Linked DNA regions of Homo sapiens: region 1 is linked to region 2. Evidence: promoter capture Hi-C in 16 types of primary human blood cells and fetal thymus (Javierre and others, 2016). All regions are on one chromosome and are shown on one strand. Each heading gives the region's core, a stretch centred on a gene start or on the middle of the fragment in contact. The rest is flanking DNA. Distances are from core to core; before and after follow the strand shown.

Region 1 (3,341 bases), core at 290-2,789, 630 kb before region 2:
AGCATATAGATGAGTGAGAAAATTGCATGCATAGACAAACGCTAAAGAGAAGGTTAAATAGGGTGATGTGGTAGAGGGTGACTGGAGGTGGTTTTAGCTTGGTGGTCTGAACAGGTCTCTCTGAGGAGTTGACTTCTGAGTTGAGACCTAAATGATATTCTGGGTAAATGTAGTTTTGGTAGGGCTTTAAAGTATTAGCTGTAGCTCAAGCATGTTCACTGTTTTTGTGAACTATGACATCCATTTAAATGATGTTCAAAGAGGAATGGTGGGACATCTCAAGTCAAACAAACATCCTGAACTCAGTGGATGAAGTCTCCAACAGGTTTCACTCCAGGGCATTTCCATGAAGTTCCACCTCTCCTTCACTTTGCTGTCAAGGCACCAGGCTTTGTTGTGTGCCCTGTAGGGGGTGGGAGTGGAGCACTTTAGTAGGAGTGATTTGTAGTTTCAGCGAAAGTGGAAGCTTCAGAACCTACCCCTCCAATTTGCTGAAGAAGGTGGGACAGAACCAAGGAAAGGCAATAAAACCGTGAACCACAGAAACACCTGCATCACCAAGTACATGCCCCGGGGCCAAAAGGGATGTTAGTGCCACTGGGATCAGATGGGATCAATTTCTCCATGTGCACTGATTCAGTGCTTGCTACACTGCTTCAAGCTAACCTCCCACTCTCACTGTCTCCATTTCAGAACCCAGTTCCTTTTCCCTCTTTCCGTTCATTTCGAGAAGACAATGTCAGAAAACAGAATGACGTATGTGTCCAAAGGCTCAAGGGCTTGGCAAGCGCTGGCTCTAGTTTTTAGCACTTAATTGACAATTATTCATTGCCTCTTGTGATTATTTAATTACACCCCCAACTGAACTTACCATTTTACCCCAGTGCTCCTCCTCTGACTTCACCATTCTATTCTTCCTTCTTTCAAATCCTGACCAGCAGGTCACTCATTTGCAATTCCTACATATTTAAAGCAACGTTCACTCTCCCGATTTCTGACCTTTCAAACACCCTTGTAACTAAGTCCTTGTATTATATTCCATCTGTTTGAAATTTATGGTATGACCTCTGGTTTCTTGATTGTGTGATAATGTAAGCGATTTCTTTCTTCAATGACTTCTTTCTTTTTTACAATTGTGATATATACTTTTATTTCTCATTGATAAATGGTTACAAATCATACTCCTAGGTTTATATAGCACTAACACTTAAACACATTGTAAAGCTTCTGGAAGGCTTATAATACCTTGTGTCTTCCAGCTTTATCTCCCAGACTGGATCTCATTTTTTTCTTTCTACTTTTCTTCCCTTTTTTTTCATAAAAATTGTATATATTTAAAGTGTACAACATGATGTTTTGATATACATAGTAAAGTGATTACTGTAGTCAAAATAATTGATTATCCACCACCTCACATTGTTCCTTTTTTGTCTTGTGGTGAGAGCAATTGAAATCTACTATATTAGCTAATTCCCAGTACGCAATACAATATTGTCACCATTCTGTACATGACATGTCTAGACTTACTCATCCTACACAACTGTAACTTTGTATTCTTTCACCAATAGTGACATTTGTTTCTTGAGTCATCAATTTCTTTCCTTTTTTTCTTAACTTTTATTTAGGTTCGAGGGTACATGTGAACGTTTGTTACATAGGTAAACTCATGTCACGGGGGTTGGTTGTACAGATCATTTCATCACTCAGGTATTATGCTCAGTACCTAACAGTGATCTCTTTTGCCCCTCTTACTCCTCCCACCCTCCACCCTTAACAGACCCCACTGTCCATTGTTTCCTTCTTTGTGTTGATTGATCAATTTAAAACACTTTTTATTGACTCCCTGCCATGAGTAGAAGCTTAAGCTACTTACACAACACCCGTCTGTCCCCTCTCTTCCAAATTTTGGTAATCATTATTTTAATTTTTCAGTGTTTCTTTAAAAAATATACCTGTAAACCTCAAATTTTGTGCAATCAACTTTAGAGATGGTCTCTTGACTCCTCACCATGTTAGATGAGACCATCCATATTCTTATCCTTCCTTCTAACTCTTCCATATTATCCCGCCTCCCATCTTCTGACTATGAACTTTCATTTCTTTAATTATCAAAGTTGTTAACATTGACATTTTGTTCTATAACAATTTAAAATCTTGTATAGTAGATGGATTCTAAAGCTAAAAGCTATTTTATTATTATGCGTGAGAATAACATGTTGCCATTTCACAGCCAAAAATTATATTTTCTAAGATTGTATTTCCACAAGCTAAGGTTATGTTTTCTTCTCTTTATGTCTAGCATCACAAGCTCTTGACCCTCAAGAGACACTATGCTCACTATACAGGTCAAAAGGATAAATGCTTTTTATTTTCTTATAATTTATAAACTATTCAAAATCACGCAGTATTTTAGTATTTTAGTTTGTTTCGTATTTGGGCCATGATTTTTTTAAGATAGTGTTTTTCTTGGAGGTTCTAAATGTGAATTCGTTATTGAGATAGGACACTTCTTTCTCTCTCTCTTTTTTTTTTCTTTTTTTCTTTTTTTTCTTTTTACCATGTCACTAATAACAAGCATCATTGTCATTCTGTACATTTGTACATTGCTTGGAAGCTGTAAGTTTTTTCTTGGACATACCATACATGGAATGTGCTGACATCCTGTTCCAGTTGGACCAATTGCTTTCTCAGCCTCACACACAGATATCATCCTAGAATTTCTTTTTATTGGACACTTGGTTGAGTTTCATTCTTTTTTTTTTATTTTTTTTTGAATTTCACTCTTTGTGTTTAGCTGTCATTTTTCTGGAGTAAATCCTCAAGTAATTTTCTCATAAAAATTGCATAGAGGGTAAACACTCTGTATATTCTCTGTGCAAAATTGTTATGATGATGTATGTAGGCATTGCCATTTTGCTCTGCTTAGATGGTCTTCCTTCTGGGTATCTGCTATAAAAGGAAGGCTGACTTGAGCTCTGTGTTTGAGGGTGGAATATGTTGATTGTCAGGCTTCACTCTATGGGAAGCTGGTAGGGAGTCAGCCTTTAGACAAAGAGGGGCCTTGGCATTCTTGAATGAGGAGGGCCACTGGAGTGTCATTGTCTCCTAAGCAGCCTTAATTCTTCCCAGGAGGTTGACTGCACTTCTTGAGAGAGGAGTCCTCTAGTTGCTGTTTTGTCTGGGGGAGATGAAGGTGAAGACAGATGTCCAGTGAGCCTCTGGCTTTGTTCTCCTCTTTGCCATGCCCATGCCAGGCTTGCCAGCAAACAGCCTGCAGGGCTAGTTATCTTCCTTCTGTGTGGCTCTTCTCACCCTTCTCTCAGTGTCACTCATCCTCACTT
Region 2 (3,725 bases), core at 265-2,764:
ACAGATATACATGCAAAGGAAAAAACAGTATATTAGGGTTTGGTACTATTTGCGGTTTTAGGCCTTCACTGGGGGTTTTGGATCCCATCCTACAGGAATAATGGGGTGCTCCTGTAGCTGTTAGTAAGACGATGGTGTGCCTGGGGATTTGTGCTATACACCACAGCATCTTCTACAGTCGTTTTGGGGGAGAGGGAAGATCAGAGCAGTACCAATCTGCTGCTCCTTGCCCCAAAACTGGCAAGAGGCGCCTTTCCTCAGCCAGAAAGGCCTCTTCTCCACCAGCTGTGTCCTGCAATCAACTGCAGCTGTATTGGTCTCACCCCATGGGAAACAGGTTTGAAGTTAAAAACCTTTTCAGAGGGCCGAGATAAATTTAGTGCTGCTAAATTTAACTATCTTCAAGATTAAACATGAAAAGCAAAGTGCATGAGTTATGTATATTATTCTTTCAATTGTGCAAAAATAAGACATTAACTTGTTTTTGCATGGAAAAATTCTGCAAGAATAGAGAAGAAATGTTAACAGTTACCCCTGGGATCTGGGATAAAAGAGATACATCATGCTTTTCTTTAAAAAAAAAAAAAATAGGTTTTTGTGGATTTTTTTGTTTTTGTTTTTTTTGACAGAGTCCAGCTCTGTAGCCCAGGCCAGAGTGCAGTGGTGGGATCTCGGTTCACTGCAACCTCCATCTCCTGGGTTCAAGTGATTCTTGTGCCTCAGCCTCCGTAGTAGCTGGGATTACAGATGTGCACCACCACACCCAGCTAATTTTTGTATTTTCAGTAGAGACGGAGTTTCACCTTGTTGGTCAGGCTGGTCTCCAGCTCCTGACCTCAGGCGATCCGCCCGCCTCGGCCTCCCAAAGTGCTGGGATTACAGGCCTGAGCCACTGCGCCTGGCCCGTGCTTTTCTCTAAAGTATGAAAGGAATATGTACTTTCTTCTTAAAAACCATGTACCAAACAACACTTTTCAATTAAAATGTTATTTTTAAAAGTTTAAATCCCCAAATTTCATGGCTCTAACTTTTTAAACATCACTTTTTAAATAAATGTCTAAGTTTTTAACTCAGTATACAGCGTTCTCCAAAACAACAAATTCATATTCTGAGCCCAAAACTGTGCACCTCTTTTAGTGATGAGGACGGAGTCCAAATTGAGGACATCCCTTGTAGCTCACAATGCACACATATTCTCACATCAATAGCAACACAGAATGCAACTGATGACCAATATATATTCACAAATAATTGAGGACCATGGCTAAGAGTTGCATTCGGATTCCGATGTGACTGCTATTGTCCTTAACACGGACTAGCTCCAGGTGAGTCCCCCGGCCCCGGGGGTGTGGCGGGCGTCACCCGTTGTCCGGGCACACACCCCGCAGACCCAATCCTAGCCCGCTGGCTAGACCATGGAGGGCCGCTGGGTGCAGCCACAGAGCGCGGGGCCCCGGCGACCCCGCCCCGCTCCGCGTCACTCGGCGCCCTGCGGCGCGCGATGAGCACCTACCACTAGCGGAGCCGCGAGGGAGAGGCCGCGGCCCCTTCCCGTTGCCTGCGGCCACCGGCCGGCATTCAGAGCCCCTCGCCTGGCGCTAAATTTAAAAACGTAACACGAGCAGCAGGCTGGTCTCGGAAACGAAACGAAATTCGGTCCCTGGGCCTCCTCCCGGGCGCTGCCGGTCCCTCAGCGCGCCGCGCCACCCGGAACAGACCCTTCTCCCGCCATTTTCGGCGGGGCTGGGAGACTGAGGCCCGCGGCGCTGAGCCTGCGGCGCCCCGGAAGAGGCGGGCGGCATGGCCGCTGGCGTGGACTGCGGGGACGGGGTTGGCGCCCGGCAGCACGTGTTCCTGGTTTCAGGTAAACACGCGCGCCCGGGCGGCGGGGTCGGCCCAAGAACTGGCGGAGCGGCCCGCGACCCCGGGCGCGCCGCCCCCCACCCCGGTGGCTCCCACTACCCGGCCCGGCGCGGGATGGGATTCTCTCTGGGACAGCTGGCCCCGCATTTTGGTCACACGTCATAGCAAGCCGCGGTTTTCAAACCCGGAAGCGCCGAAAAGGACCGAGCGTGTTTCCCGGGCCCTGATCCCCGGTGGCTCGGGTGGGAGGGTGGAAGCCGACTCAGCCTGAGGGGAGCCACGCGGGTTCGCGGTCACCGGTGCGCTGCGGGCCCCGGAGGTTTCTGCCCTTGGTGTCCCCTACCTGGCAGCTGGCCCTGCTTCTGTGATCCTACTGGGTTGGAACCAGGGATCCAGTAGGCTCGAAGTGGCCTCAGACGGTGCGCAGTTTTAAGAAAGCAAAGGGACAGGCCTGCAGTGGCGAGGCAGGAGGGAAGCGGGATGGGAGTCGCGGTTAGGCCAAGGGTAGTTCAAAGCGATTCAGCAGGATGATGACCACAGGAGTGCTGGAGCCGGGCCTTTCAGCCCCCGTGTGGATGATGACCGGCCATCCAGGACATGCGAGGGCTTGGGACAGTGGACAGCCAGTGCCACACAAGGAAGGACCGATTAAATGACACAGTTAAAGGAATTTGGCCTAGGGAGTGCAAGCCAGAAAGGTTTGGTCTTTTTATATATGTAACATTGGAAAAAAGGAACATCTCCTGTTCCCTGTATTAAGTTTTGACTTTAGCTCAGCAAATGCAGTGTTTGTGGCAGTAAATATACTCTGATAACAATATTCTTTCCCAGGAATTTAGAGTTTTATGATGGTTATTGAAAATGTTTACATGACAGGCTGTCAATAATATTTTTTGCCTCTAAAAATAAAACATACATAAAGTGTACGGATTTTAAGTATGCAACTCACTGAACTTTTCATACGTATACACCACCCTAGTAACCATCCCCCAGTTCAAGATGTAGACTGTTTCCAATAACGCCTCATGCCTGTTCCTAGATAGCCCCAGGAACCTCTATGCTGACCTCTGTCACCAGAGATTAGTTTTGCCTGTTTGAATAAGAGTGTACCCTTTGTGTCTGGCTTCTTTCACTCTGAAAGATTCATCCTTGTTGTGAAATTCATTCATGTTGTAGCAGTTGTTTGGTTGGTTGGTTAGTTTTTTCATTGCTGCTTCTGTTTAATTGTATGAGTATCCATACTATGTATCTCTACTGTGGATGGACATTTGGGTTGTTTCCAGTTTGCAACTATTACAAGTTACACTTCTCAGAGCATTCCTTTAGGCGGCTTTTGGTAGACATGGGCACTCATATCTCTAGGGTGTATACCCTGGAGTGGAATGGCTGGTTCTAGTACTTGTGTGTAGAGCTGTAGTTGACAATGTTAAATGGTTTTCCAAAGTGGTTATACTGATTTATATTCCCACAAGCAGTGTATGAGAGTTCCCATTGCTGCACATCCTCGGTAAAAACGTTTGGGTGGTAAAACAGCTAATGCAAAATTCAGGGTTTTGACAGAATCTCGCAAAGGGCTACCCGTATACATGCTTTTCATTAGAAAAATCATCCTTTCTTCTCACTTCGTCACATCAAGACAATTAGATTTTCAGAGTAGGAACTCTAATCATTCTTTCAGAATCAAGTGCATTATTGTTATTTCAGATATACACAATAGCTGATGATAATTTGAGCTTCTTATTTTGTTGTTCTGTTTAATCAGTATTGACATCGTCATTTTATACGTGTGTTTGTGTCCTTGTATTAAACACAAAACCCTCAAAAGAATTAAATATTGATTGTATCCCTGAAAATTGTAGGTT

Evidence for each region. Contacts are between HindIII fragments. The CHiCAGO score rates a contact against its expected background, and 5 or more counts as called.
Region 1: a contact is called between a fragment that was not itself captured here and the fragment with the promoter of RNASEH2B in region 2, in 1 of 17 cell types (monocytes). The highest score is 5.3, in monocytes.

Annotation. Positions count from the first base shown.
Region 1 is chr13:50,279,151-50,282,491 of GRCh38, forward strand. All of the region lies in intron 2 of DLEU1 (deleted in lymphocytic leukemia 1), which reads left to right. Among named protein-coding and RNA genes, the nearest start is that of DLEU2, 160 kb to the left of the region's middle. The HindIII fragment of the contact is 635 bases long and covers 1,223-1,857 here.
Region 2 is chr13:50,908,277-50,912,001 of GRCh38, forward strand. RNASEH2B (ribonuclease H2 subunit B) reads left to right here and starts at 1,515. Exons shown (of 11, transcript NM_024570.4): 1 at 1,515-1,864. The coding sequence starts at 1,801. RNASEH2B-AS1 (RNASEH2B antisense RNA 1) reads right to left here and starts at 2,436. Exons shown (of 3, transcript NR_046552.1): 1 at 2,207-2,436. RefSeq lists silencers at 1,330-1,759, 1,770-2,009, 2,220-2,269. The HindIII fragment of the contact is 8,311 bases long and covers 1-3,725 here.